Linked DNA regions of Homo sapiens: all the other regions are linked to region 3. Evidence: promoter capture Hi-C in 16 types of primary human blood cells and fetal thymus (Javierre and others, 2016). All regions are on one chromosome and are shown on one strand. Each heading gives the region's core, a stretch centred on a gene start or on the middle of the fragment in contact. The rest is flanking DNA. Distances are from core to core; before and after follow the strand shown. Region 1 has its middle 30 kb from the start of KRTAP19-8. Region 2 has its middle 7.5 kb from the start of KRTAP19-8. Region 3 holds the start of KRTAP27-1 (keratin associated protein 27-1).

The links. Contacts are between HindIII fragments. The CHiCAGO score rates a contact against its expected background, and 5 or more counts as called.
Region 1: a fragment that was not itself captured here is called in contact with the fragment with the promoter of KRTAP27-1 in region 3 in 5 of 17 cell types (naive CD8 T cells, M0 macrophages, activated CD4 T cells and 2 more); the score reaches 8.5 in naive CD8 T cells.
Region 2: a contact is called between a fragment that was not itself captured here and the fragment with the promoter of KRTAP27-1 in region 3, in 1 of 17 cell types (activated CD4 T cells). The highest score is 5.1, in activated CD4 T cells.

The regions. Positions count from the first base shown.
Region 1 is chr21:31,066,874-31,070,694 of GRCh38, reverse strand. No RefSeq gene overlaps it. Among named protein-coding and RNA genes, the nearest start is that of KRTAP19-8, 30 kb to the right of the region's middle. The HindIII fragment of the contact is 2,613 bases long and covers 792-3,404 here.
Region 2 is chr21:31,044,154-31,047,763 of GRCh38, reverse strand. No RefSeq gene overlaps it. Among named protein-coding and RNA genes, the nearest start is that of KRTAP19-8, 7.5 kb to the right of the region's middle. The HindIII fragment of the contact is 3,221 bases long and covers 244-3,464 here.
Region 3 is chr21:30,335,064-30,338,943 of GRCh38, reverse strand. It overlaps KRTAP27-1 (keratin associated protein 27-1), which reads left to right and starts at 1,250. Exons shown (of 1, transcript NM_001077711.1): 1 at 1,250-1,931. The coding sequence starts at 1,276. The coding sequence ends at 1,899. The HindIII fragment of the contact is 10,696 bases long and covers 1-3,880 here.

The DNA of each region.
Region 1 (3,821 bases), core at 849-3,348, 730 kb before region 3:
AATATAAACATCAAAGCTTCCAAACAATTTTTGTCAAGACTTAAACATAGGGGCACTTGTAAACAGGGTAAGAAAAACTAAAGAAGAGGGAACAATTGGTAGAGGCTGCAGATGAATCTGAAGTCCCGTTTAGAGATTCATGACTTTATTTTCATTCTGAAATATTAAAGGTAAGTGATATACAACGATCTCAGAATTTCTAAGAGGAATTTATGTAAGATTGTACATAAAGTCAATAGAATATGGTACAGAAAATCTGGACTTTAGGAGGGGTTTATAAACTCAGATTTTTTTGTTTTTGCAATTCTTTCCTTCATAATATGGAAATAACCAAATCTCTTAGGGTTGTTTAAGATACCTGAAGCTCTTGGTATATATTAAGACTTAATAAATGCTAGCTTGCTTCTCTCCCACTGTGTGTTTATGTATATGTTCCTCTTTATGTATGAATCATATATACTAACGTAGTTTTCCTTTCCCTGTAATGAGCTGAAAACAAATGATCTTCTCCTCAATTCTATTTTTCTTCTTTGTAGCTGATGTTGGTAACAGGAGTATATAGCCAACAAGCTCGTCCCTATCCTGAGGTTCATATTACAAGATACAATCATTTTTCCCTTGGCGGTAGATGAGGCAATTTATATCTCTGGTTGTCTTAAGCATCTCCTACAGCAAATCAGCTATAGTTTAAAGTCAAAATGAAATCCTCCGTGGATTTGAATCATAGCTAGAAGCAAGACCATCAAGTTAGGAGTGCTTGATTGAGCAAAGTGGAAAAAACAAAAAAAGCTTACAACACCTAAATTACAACGAATGGTAGTAATATGTCATCCATGGCAACTTCAGTATTCTCAAATTTTTTTTATTTGCTCAACCAATTCCACATATTGAAATGGCTTGATGGGGTGAGTCTTCCTAATTTTTATTTTAAATGGGGCTGAAAGTAGAAACTGTTATAGAAATAAACAAGAAGCTGTTTAAGGAGACAACCAGAGGGAGAAGGCAGCAAATAATCTTGGAAGATATAGGAGAAAGAGCAAGTCATCTTGCAAAATATGGTAAGAAAAATCTACCATCCCCGCCCCAGCCCAAGGGAGAGAGTAAGCCAGGGTACCCAGAACATGGAAAAGGAGCTTCAAAGTCAACCAGAACAAAATTGGAATTCCAGCCTTGCCACTTTCTAGTTGCTGATCAACTTTAGAAACATGTCTTAGCCTCTTTGATTTTCATTGTTCTTATCTGTAGGATAAGGCTAAAAAATATCTCCATTTGCAGGACTCCTGTGAGGATGAATTGAGAATGTAAAGCACTTTGGAGTGGTTGGAACATACAAAACATTTGACAAATGATGTAGTGTTATTGTCTTAATATATTTAATACAATATATATTCTAAGATATATTGAAATATGCATGCATTAAGATTTGACCTGAAAAATGGGGAATTATGCTTTATTATGTGAAAGTTAATAATCTTACAATAATTATGAATAGTAATCATATTCTTTTTTTTTTTTTTTTGAGACAGAGTTTCACTCTTGTTGCCCAGGCTGGAGAGCAATGGCACGATCTCGGCTCACCGCAACCTCCGCCTCCCGAGTAGCTGGGATTACAGGGATGCGCCACCATGCTTGGCTAATTTTGTATTTTTAATAGAGATGGGGTTTCTCCGTGTTGGTCAGGCTGGTCTTGAACTCCTGACCTCAGGTGATCCACCTGACTGGGACTTCCAAAGTGCTGGGATTACAGGCGTGAGCCACTGTGCCCGACCCATACTAATTCTTACATAAAAATGCTGAAACTTGAGGGTGATACAGCATAAGAAAAAACATAGGTTTGGGGTCAGAAAGTTTTCAGTTTCTTCTGATTGGTGGCTGAGATGTTTGGATAAGTCACTATAACTTGCTGAATTTCAGTGTCTTTATCCATAGAGAGGGGATAATAACACTTACTTTTTAGAGTTTTGGGAGGATTATAAAACAACTAATGAATATTGCCTGGCATATGGTAAACAAAAGACACCTGTTCTCTTCCCTTTTTGGTATTATTCTGAGACTACTATATAATCCTACTATATCTCATAGTCACCTTAGAATACAGACAGAATATAGAGTCTCAAAATCTCACAGATAGCATATAATATATTGGAATCATCAAATATAAATATAAAATTGAACCTGGTGAATATTCAAACTCTGCTAACTGATGCATCAGGGCTTCTGATGTGTCAGAAGTAAGTAAGTAAGTTGCTAGGTAATTTCTGTAGTACTAGGCCTTTACTACCTTAGAACAGAGAGGCCATTCCTTTGAGGCAGTTTTAATTGTCAGAAAGTTCTTAATATTGAACTGAAATCTCCTCCTGGCAATTTCCCTTCAGTGGTTATAGTTCTAGATGCTGATCATATTCACATCACAGCCCTTTGTGTATTTTAAGTCTGCTGTCTTAGAACAGCACCTGGCCGATGGTAGGTATTCAGCAAATGTTTCCTCAGTGAATGAATGAGCGGATGAATGGGACAAGAAATGAGAACCATTTTACAGTGTGAGTGCTTTACTGCCTATGCTGAGAATGTTAGCACAATTTCTTTTGCACAAAATGGTAATATATTGTATCAGTCATGGTACAATAAAGACAGCAGAACCATTACGAGTTTTATAGAATAAGGGATTTATCATAGTAATAAAGCCTTATACCATTATGGAAGGGGCCGGAGAAGTATAGTTTACAAGGAGGGGTTGGAGGATCAGAGAAATGTCTATAACCGTGCCTTTTGAAATGCTAGTGCAAGTGGACAAGGGCAGAGTTCACAAAGGAATGTGGGAAGGCAGGGGCAGCAGCTGAGGAATGAAACTGGGAAGGAGCCTGGGAACCCTGTTGTTGCCTTTGCATCTGGTTATGGGCCTGGAAAGATTGTTGGCCCGTGTGTTCAGGCTCTCCAGAGAGAAAGAACCAGTAGGATCTATCTGCCTGCCTGCCTATCTATCTACCCATCTATCCGTATATCATCTATCTGTATATCATCTATCTATCTGTCTATCTCCATCTGTCTATCATCTGTTTATCATCTATCTATCCATCCATCCACCCATCTTTCTATCTATAGAATTGGCTCACGTGATTACGACGGCTGGGAAGTCTAAAATCTGCAGGGGGACTGGCAAGTCTGAGATCCTGGAGAGCTGATGGTGCAGATAAAGGCTGAAGGCAGTCTGTTGGAGAAGTTCCTCTTGCTCAGGGAGGCTGATCTTTTTGTTCAGTTCAGGCCTTTAACGTATTGGATGAGGCCCACCCACATTGTGGAAGGCAATCTACTTTACCTAATAGTTCACTGATTTAAATGTTAATTTCATCTCAAAATGCCCTCTGAGTTGACACATAAAATTACCTATCACAGTCAGCAAAGCTTGCAGTCAGGAAGAAGAGCTAGATACAGAGGAGGGAAAACATGAATGAGGGCTGGAATCTGCCAGCACTTCTGCTTCTATCCCTTGTTGCACTAACAATGATGGTCTTTGAAGAGTCAATGGCTGCCGTTCACTTCTGCCTTCCAAATCTTGCTCAGGTTTCCCAGAAGATAATTCTGGGAATCATAGTGCTAGTAGACCAGTTGGCATGCATAAAACTACGTAGTCAACCCATTGTTAACTTGGCACCATATATACCTTTTTAACATATATTTAACTTTCTAACTTGATGCAACCACCCCCCAAACAACCTAACACCTGCTAACCTTCTTGCCCCAAAAGGATACAAAGTCTCATGTGTCATCTAATCCATCTCTGGGTGATGTTATTACCCTTTTTTTTTTTAATTATACTTTAA
Region 2 (3,610 bases), core at 605-3,104, 710 kb before region 3:
GATTTGATGAGGTCCACTGACACTAGGGAGGGCAATTGCTTTACTTAGTCCATTGGCTTAAATGTTAATCTCATCCAAAACACTTTCGCAGAAACACCAGGAAAAATACTTAACTGAATATCAGCTACCCCATGGCCCAGTCAGTTTGCTAGATAAAAGTAACCATCATACATAATTTTGGTTCCCATCAGTCTTGAAGCCCCCTTCCTCATCCTCCAGTAAACTGGCATTTTGTTCAAAGCTTCTAAGTTATTTAAAGTTTTACACAACAATGAGGGTGAGTTTTTAATCAAAGGGGTAGGAAAGGAAGAATAGGGTGAGGAGGGAATAGCAGAAGTAATTAAAAGTAATTGTCATAATTGCTTCTTGTTAAACCCAGCTAATTGGTAAAAAGTAACAAGGGAGGAGGCCATTATGCAAATATATGGCCACTCTGTTCAGCTCCAGTTGAAGATATCAGAGCAGAGAATGGGAACGTTTCTACTAGCTAGTTACATGATGATCTGTTCATTGTCCTTATCAGTAACCCTTCGCCTCTTGCAGCATCAGACTTCTGCAATCTTGCTGGTTTTTCCCAACCTGTCCAAATCCAATTCAGTATATTCAGAGACATTCCTTACCCTTAAGTTATACTATTTTCCTCTCTGTCTTCCAACTACTACCACCCTTTAATGCCCAGCTCAAATTCTGTCTTCCCCTTGATGCGTTCTGTGACTGTTTCAGTCCTTAGTCTTCCATTTTCTCTGTATTCTTTTCTTCTTGCCTTTTCTGTACACTGACAGCTGCCTATATGACCTGTGTTACTAGTGGCTGCTTTTCCCTGTTATTTCCCCATCAGGAGAGTAAAAAACCTTACAACAAAGCTCTGTTTCTTGTGTACCTTCTTTAGCACCAAGAACAGTCCCAGGAATAGAGTTGCTAATAGATACTTATGAATAATGAGTGACTCTAACATGTAAGCCAAATCCTATCGTTCCTCTGGGCAAAACTCTGTAATGACTCCTCATCTTACAAGAAAAGCTAAAGTTGTATAACAGACAACACAGGATAGTTTCATCGGATCCCTTGTCCCTTCTCTTCTTGTCTCCATAATTCTCCACCTTGTTCACTGGAGCATCACCTAAATTGTCTTCCATGAAAACCTCTCAAGTGTAGGGGTTTCCAAGTACTGTAAGGGCAAATACAAATAAAAATGAGAGGCTGGGCCTGTAATCCCAGCACTTTGGGGGGCCAAGGCGGGTGGATCACCTGAGGTCAGGAGTTCGGGACCAGCCTGGCCAACATGGTGAAACCGTGTCTACTAAAAATAGAAAAAATTAGCTGGGTGTGGTGGCAGATGCCTGTAATCCCAGCTACTCAGGAGGCTGAGGCAATAGAATCACCCGAACTTGGGAGGTGGAGATTGCAGTGAGCTGAGATCGTGCTGTTGCACTCAGCCTGGGCGACAAGAGCAAGACTCCATCTCAAAAAAAAAAAAAAAAAAAAGTGTCATTGTTTCTGTTGAAAATAAGGGAAGAGACCTCCTTTTTCTTAGAGCATTTGCTTTAGAAAACTTGTCATTGTAAATTCTCTGTCACTTTGGCAGGTGTCTTGATCCCAAACTACCTTCTATCATCAGGATATAAGAAGTTTATTTTTCCTTTGAATAAAGCCAATTGGGAAACACAGATGGCCACTGCAGTTACTCAGTGAATCTAGGATGAGCCATGTGTGACAAATCATGCTGCCAAGTCCTCTTATGGAGGCGTAGGTGTTGTTTATTTTGAGAACATGTATGTAACACTCTGTATCTGCTTGGCTGTATAAAAAGGTGAGACTTCTTTCTGTCTTCACAATTTCTTAGTGGGTCGCCTGTGATGTGTACCACGTTCTGGTTCAATGTTTATTCAATAATGAAATTGTTTTCTTCCTCTTCTTCCTTTGTGGGAAGTTTTCTGGGTTGGAGATATGTTGTTGTTAATTGTATTTCTCTAACACTGCCTGCCTGGATGTTTCTAGTTGTCCTTCATGCTACAGACTTCTATCTTGAGAAGGGGAAGGTGAGGACTTGTGTCTACAATTTCTTCCACTCTTTCTTTCATACTCCAGTGCATTATACAGAGTGGGTGCTACAGTCTGAATGCTTGTGTCTCCTCCAAATTCCTATGTTGGAATTCTAATCCCTGCGATGATTGTGTTAGGAGGTAGGGCTTTGGGAAGGTGATGAGGTAGTGAGGACATAGCCTGCATGAATGGCATTAGTGTCCTTATAAAAGGGAACCCAGAGAGCTAGCTTGCCTCTTCCACCATGAGAGAACACAGTGAGAAGGTGCCATCTATGAATGAGGGAGCAGACCTTCACCAGAGACCAAATCTACTGCCACCTTGATCTTAGACTTCCCAGACTCCAGAATTGTGAGAAATAGATTTCTATTGATATAAGCCATACATTTTATGGTTTTAAAAAATAGCAGCCTGAAACAGTAGGTTTTCTATTTCCTTTTTCTTCTTCGAAAGGATTTCACTATATTATATCCTTCTTCTTCCTGGTGGCATTAATCTCTACGCATTGTTTTTTTTTTAATAGCAGAAACTCTGTGATCTGTGTCTACTAGACACACATATATATATATTTAGTATGGGAACTGTTTAGTTTGGCTTCTCCCAGAAGTAGATCCTTAGACAAAGATTTTATTTGGGAGTAGTTTATTTGGGAGGGGGAGGGAACAGAGGTAGGGGAGTGGGAAAGTGAGAAATAGAGGGGAAGGTGGACAGCAAAGGGTGGGCCATTAAGACAGTTCCTGCAGTGGGTAACTGGCGCTTAATCTCCCGTGGAAACTGGAGGAATAGTGGAAAACATACATCAGAACTAGCCTATGGAGGGGCCAGGTAGCTGGGTCTTTATTAACTCCCAAGAGTCAGTGATTAAGGGCTGCTGGTGGGAGGGAGGGAGACATTCATTCCCTGGCACTTCCAAATGTTCTCACTTATGAGCAAAGCTGCTTCAGTGGTTCAGCCAAAAGCCAGCAGGCACAGCAATGTGGATTCCATCCGTGGGAGGTGTATTAGTCCATTCTTCGACTGTTATAAAGAACTACCAGGTCACGCCTGTAATCCCAGCACTTTGGGAGGCTGAGGTGGGCAGATCATGAGGTCAGGAGTTTGAGACCAGCCTGGCCAATATGGTGAAACACCACCTCTACTAAAAAAAATATACAAAAATTAGCCAGGCATGATGGTGCATGCCTGTAGTCCCAGCTACTTGGGAGGCTGAGGCAGGAGAATCACTTGAACCTGGGAGGAGGAGGTTGCAGTGAGCCAAGATCACAACACTGCACTCCAGTCTGGGTAACAGAGTGAGACAATATCTCAAAAGAAAAAAAAAAAACTATTAGAGACTAGGTAATTTTAGAAGGAAAGAGGTTTAATTGACTCACAGTTCTGCAGGCTATACAGGAAGCATGACTGGGAGGCCTCAGGAAGCTTACAGTCATGGCAGAAGGGTGAAGGGGGAAGCAAGCACCTTCTTCACATTGTGGCAGGACAGAGACTGAAGGGGGAGGTGCTACACATTTTTGTACAACCAGATCTTGTGAGAACTCACTATCACAAGAACAACAAGGGGGAAGTC
Region 3 (3,880 bases), core at 1-2,500:
GATCTTTAAACATACAAGTGTGGTTATTCAAAATTATAAATGACTTGCGTGTGTTACAAAGGTATTGTATACAAGATGAGTGTGCAGCCTATAAAGCTGAAAGTATTCAGATGTGCCCTTTTAAATTTATAATATCCTCAGTCTTTCAAGGAAGTGTTTGCATAAGAATTACTGAGAATTGCTGAATGTTCTTGGGCTTCTTCAGACCTTAGAAAGGGAGTCTAGTTAGTGCACTAAGACTATACTTCTATTTTATTGTCATTAGCTGAGCCAAATATATTATAGAATATGTTATAGAAATTGTGCTGGTTGGCTCTGTGCCATGAGTATGAAACTATGCTAAGAACGGTGTCCTAATGCGATAAACATAGGAACTGATCATCTGTCTGCAGTCAATAAAAAAAGCACAGAATAAAGATGAAAAATATCTGAAGAAGGTTCATTATAAAGGAAAATAATCAACCTTTGAGAAGCACAAACACAAGTAAACACACCACTTTGTCAAGTATAGAAAAAAGGAATTAAATCCATTAGTAATTCAGAAAAGGAAGAAATAACTCCTAAATGGGAAGATTGGGGAAGACTTCAGGAAAAGGACGCATTTAAACTTGGCTTTCAAGGAGATTAGGGAAACGAAATGTTAGGCAAAAGACAAGTATTTATTGGGCAATGGCCACACTCAGTACTTTGCATGAACACTGAGAAGGAATGTGATCACAAAGTCCTCTCACATTCTGGTCCACTGGAGAGAACAATATCTGAGTGGAATGAGATTGGGCTCAACCTGGATCCAATTCTAACTTTAAATGTCTTGAACATCAAATTACCACATTCTGCTACATTGGCAGCTCTCAAAACCAGTGCTAAATGTTAATCAGTATTCAGTTGGCCACTGCCTCATGCATTTCTCATTGTCCACTTACCAATGTGCAGAGTCATGGTGGCAAAAAAAAAAAAAAATGTTAGCTTGGTTGGACAGGTTTAGACTCTTATTTGACCAACCCCACCTTGAATGAGTCATCTTTGGAGCTAACATAAAAGCCATTTTGAAGATTCAAAATGGACTTACATCTTTGTTAATAAGACATCATCTGCATATATAACCAAAGTGGTAATGAGATGTTATCCTTCAAATTAGTTTAAGCAATGAGTTGCAAAGAAGTCTTGAGAAGCCAACACCCAGGTTTCTGAGTATATAATCGCCGCACCAAAGAATTTAATTTTCAAACTCAGCATGTTGAGTCCTTATGACCATCTTTAAGGATTTTTAGCAATATGCCTCATAGCCACTGCCATTCACTCAGGAGCTTCCACAATGCCCCACCACTCTCTGCCATCACACATGGCACTAATCCTATAACCTTTGAAGACAGATTGTGTTTGCCCAGCAGCTTCCATAGCAGAACCTGTTTCCTGGACAACTTTCAAGAAACCTGCAATGAAACCACCAGCTGCCAAATGACCAATTGTGAACAGGACTTATTCACAGACGATAGCTGTGTGCAAAGTAACTGCTTCCCCGGAGTTGTCCAAACTACTTACTCCAATTCCAGGCCCTGCGAAAGGACAGCGTGCCAATCAGAAAGTTCTTCAGCAGGGCTGGCTTGTGTTTCTCAGCCTTGCCAATCAGAAAGCACTCAGCAGATGGGTTTTGTAGCCCAGAGCTGCCAACCTGCAAGCCTCAAGGGAAACAGTTGCCCACCCAAGACTTCTAAGTCTAAAAATTTCGAAACTCTGGAACGTGCATCTAGCCAATGTCAGTGTCAGTCTCAGAACCCTGAATCCAGTTCCTGTAGACCTCTGGTCAATGTTGCACCTGAGCCACAACTCCTGGAATCTTCTCCAGGAGTTGAACCAACTTGCTGTGTTACTGGTGGTTCTCAATTGCCTAGTAAGTGAAGATCTGTAGGGGAGATGGCTTATATTCTCATTTGGATGAATTTATTTTTGAGATACTTAGATATTTTGTATTTCTTTAAATAAAAAATGTTGTGTGTGTTTGTTAGTAAATGAACATGTCTTATTTTACTACTGTCTCCAAAGACAAGATTTTTTTTCTTGTTTTTCTTTTGGGTATGTCTAGTGGTAATCTGGGGTTGGAAAGCATGCTAGCTATTTTAGAGCAGTAGGATACGATTTGTTATTAAGCAATAAGAGCTGTAGCCAGGAAATAACATGAATACTTAAAGGAAACATCACACTTTAACTGCAAGTTGTTTTCTTTGGAAATACTTAGCATTGGATCTGGTTTATTAAGTAATGTGCTACTAGTCTCAGAAATTCATAAAATATTGGAACCAAACCTAAAAGCCTACCTAGTCCTGTGAATTACGATAGGTTCAACTCTATCAGAGGTTGCCCAAGTAGTTAATAACATCAGAACCACAACTAAAATCCAGGCCTACTCACTGGCCATCTGTTATTTTAGCCATTGAATCACAACATTCTCAAATTAACTAGAAGATTAAGTCTATTGTTCGAATAGAGCAAGGTAATTTTGAATTTCACCTCCATGGGCTTTATAACCACGTAGCAACCAGAAGCCTTTAAATAGAATGAATTGAAGTTTAGAATCTTCACTTCATTTCGTTCCCGTTGTTTTTTTGGTTGTTTGTTTTTTTCCTGTTTTCATTATTTCTTAAGTATTTTTTGAGTTTGGAAAATATTCTTTGTATTAAATAAATTTGCTTTCTTTGGAAGCAAAATTTGGACTTGTCACACTATTATTTTTATTCAATCCTTTTGCAGGTGTTATGTTACAGGCTTTTTGTTTCTTCGTTTGTTACCTAATGAAAATAGTATAAATATTTAGAAGAAAAGAGAACATATCCTCTTGTTATAATTTTTATAGTGTGAACCAGAAAAGAATAACTCATGGTGGTAGTCAACAGAAGATGGAAAATATACTCATATGAACATCATAAGACCATAGAGTCAGATGTTTGAAATTGATTAATTTTATTTAGGTAGCTTAGCTATTCTGAAACTTTTGGTGTGTTCTTAAATTGATCTTTCAATTTTTTTTTTTTTTTTTGAGATGGAGTCTCGCTATGTCACCCAGGCTGGAGTGCAGTGGCGCAATCTCGGCTCACTGCAAGCTCTGCTTCCTGGGTTCACGCCATTCTCCTGCCTCAGACTCCCGAGTAGCTGGGACTACAGGTGCCTGCCACCATGCCCGGCTAATTTTTTGTATTTGTAGTAGAAACGGGTTTCACCACATTAGCCAGGATGGTCTCAATCTCCTGACCTCGTGATCCGCCTGCCTCGGCCTCCCAAAGTGCTGGGATTACAGGCGTGAGCCACCATGCCTGGCCTTGGATCTCACATTTTTTCAGGGCAAAATAAGGTAGTGGTTGAGAGCATGAACTCTGAATATGGATTTCCTTGAGCTGGAATCTTAGCTTTGCTTAGTGATGGCTGTTTAAGTTCCAACTGTGTGACTGTGTGCAAGTTATTTAACCACCTCAGTTTCTTCAACTTCAAAAGTGAAGGATAATAATAGGGCTACTGTGAGCCTTAATAAGTTAATAAATTGAAAGTGTAAGGCTTAAAAAATTACCATGTATATAGCATATTTAGCAACTCAGCTAGCTCAGAGACTTGGTATGGGGGAGGTAGTGGGGATTTGTAAATAAACCCAGAAATCCATGAGAGATTAGGAAAGCTAGTCATCCAACAAAAGAGAGATTAGCTGTTTTGTATTTTGGAAGATGCAGGCAGCATCATCTACTAAGGGAGAAAATTAAGAAACTTAAACGCTGTCTAGTTGAAGTAAATTGGCAAGTATCTCTGAATCTATGGCAAACCTAATGCTACTGATAATTTACCAGTTAGTTCTGAGGGTGGGTGCCATGGTAATTCTATGTATCAACATGATTGA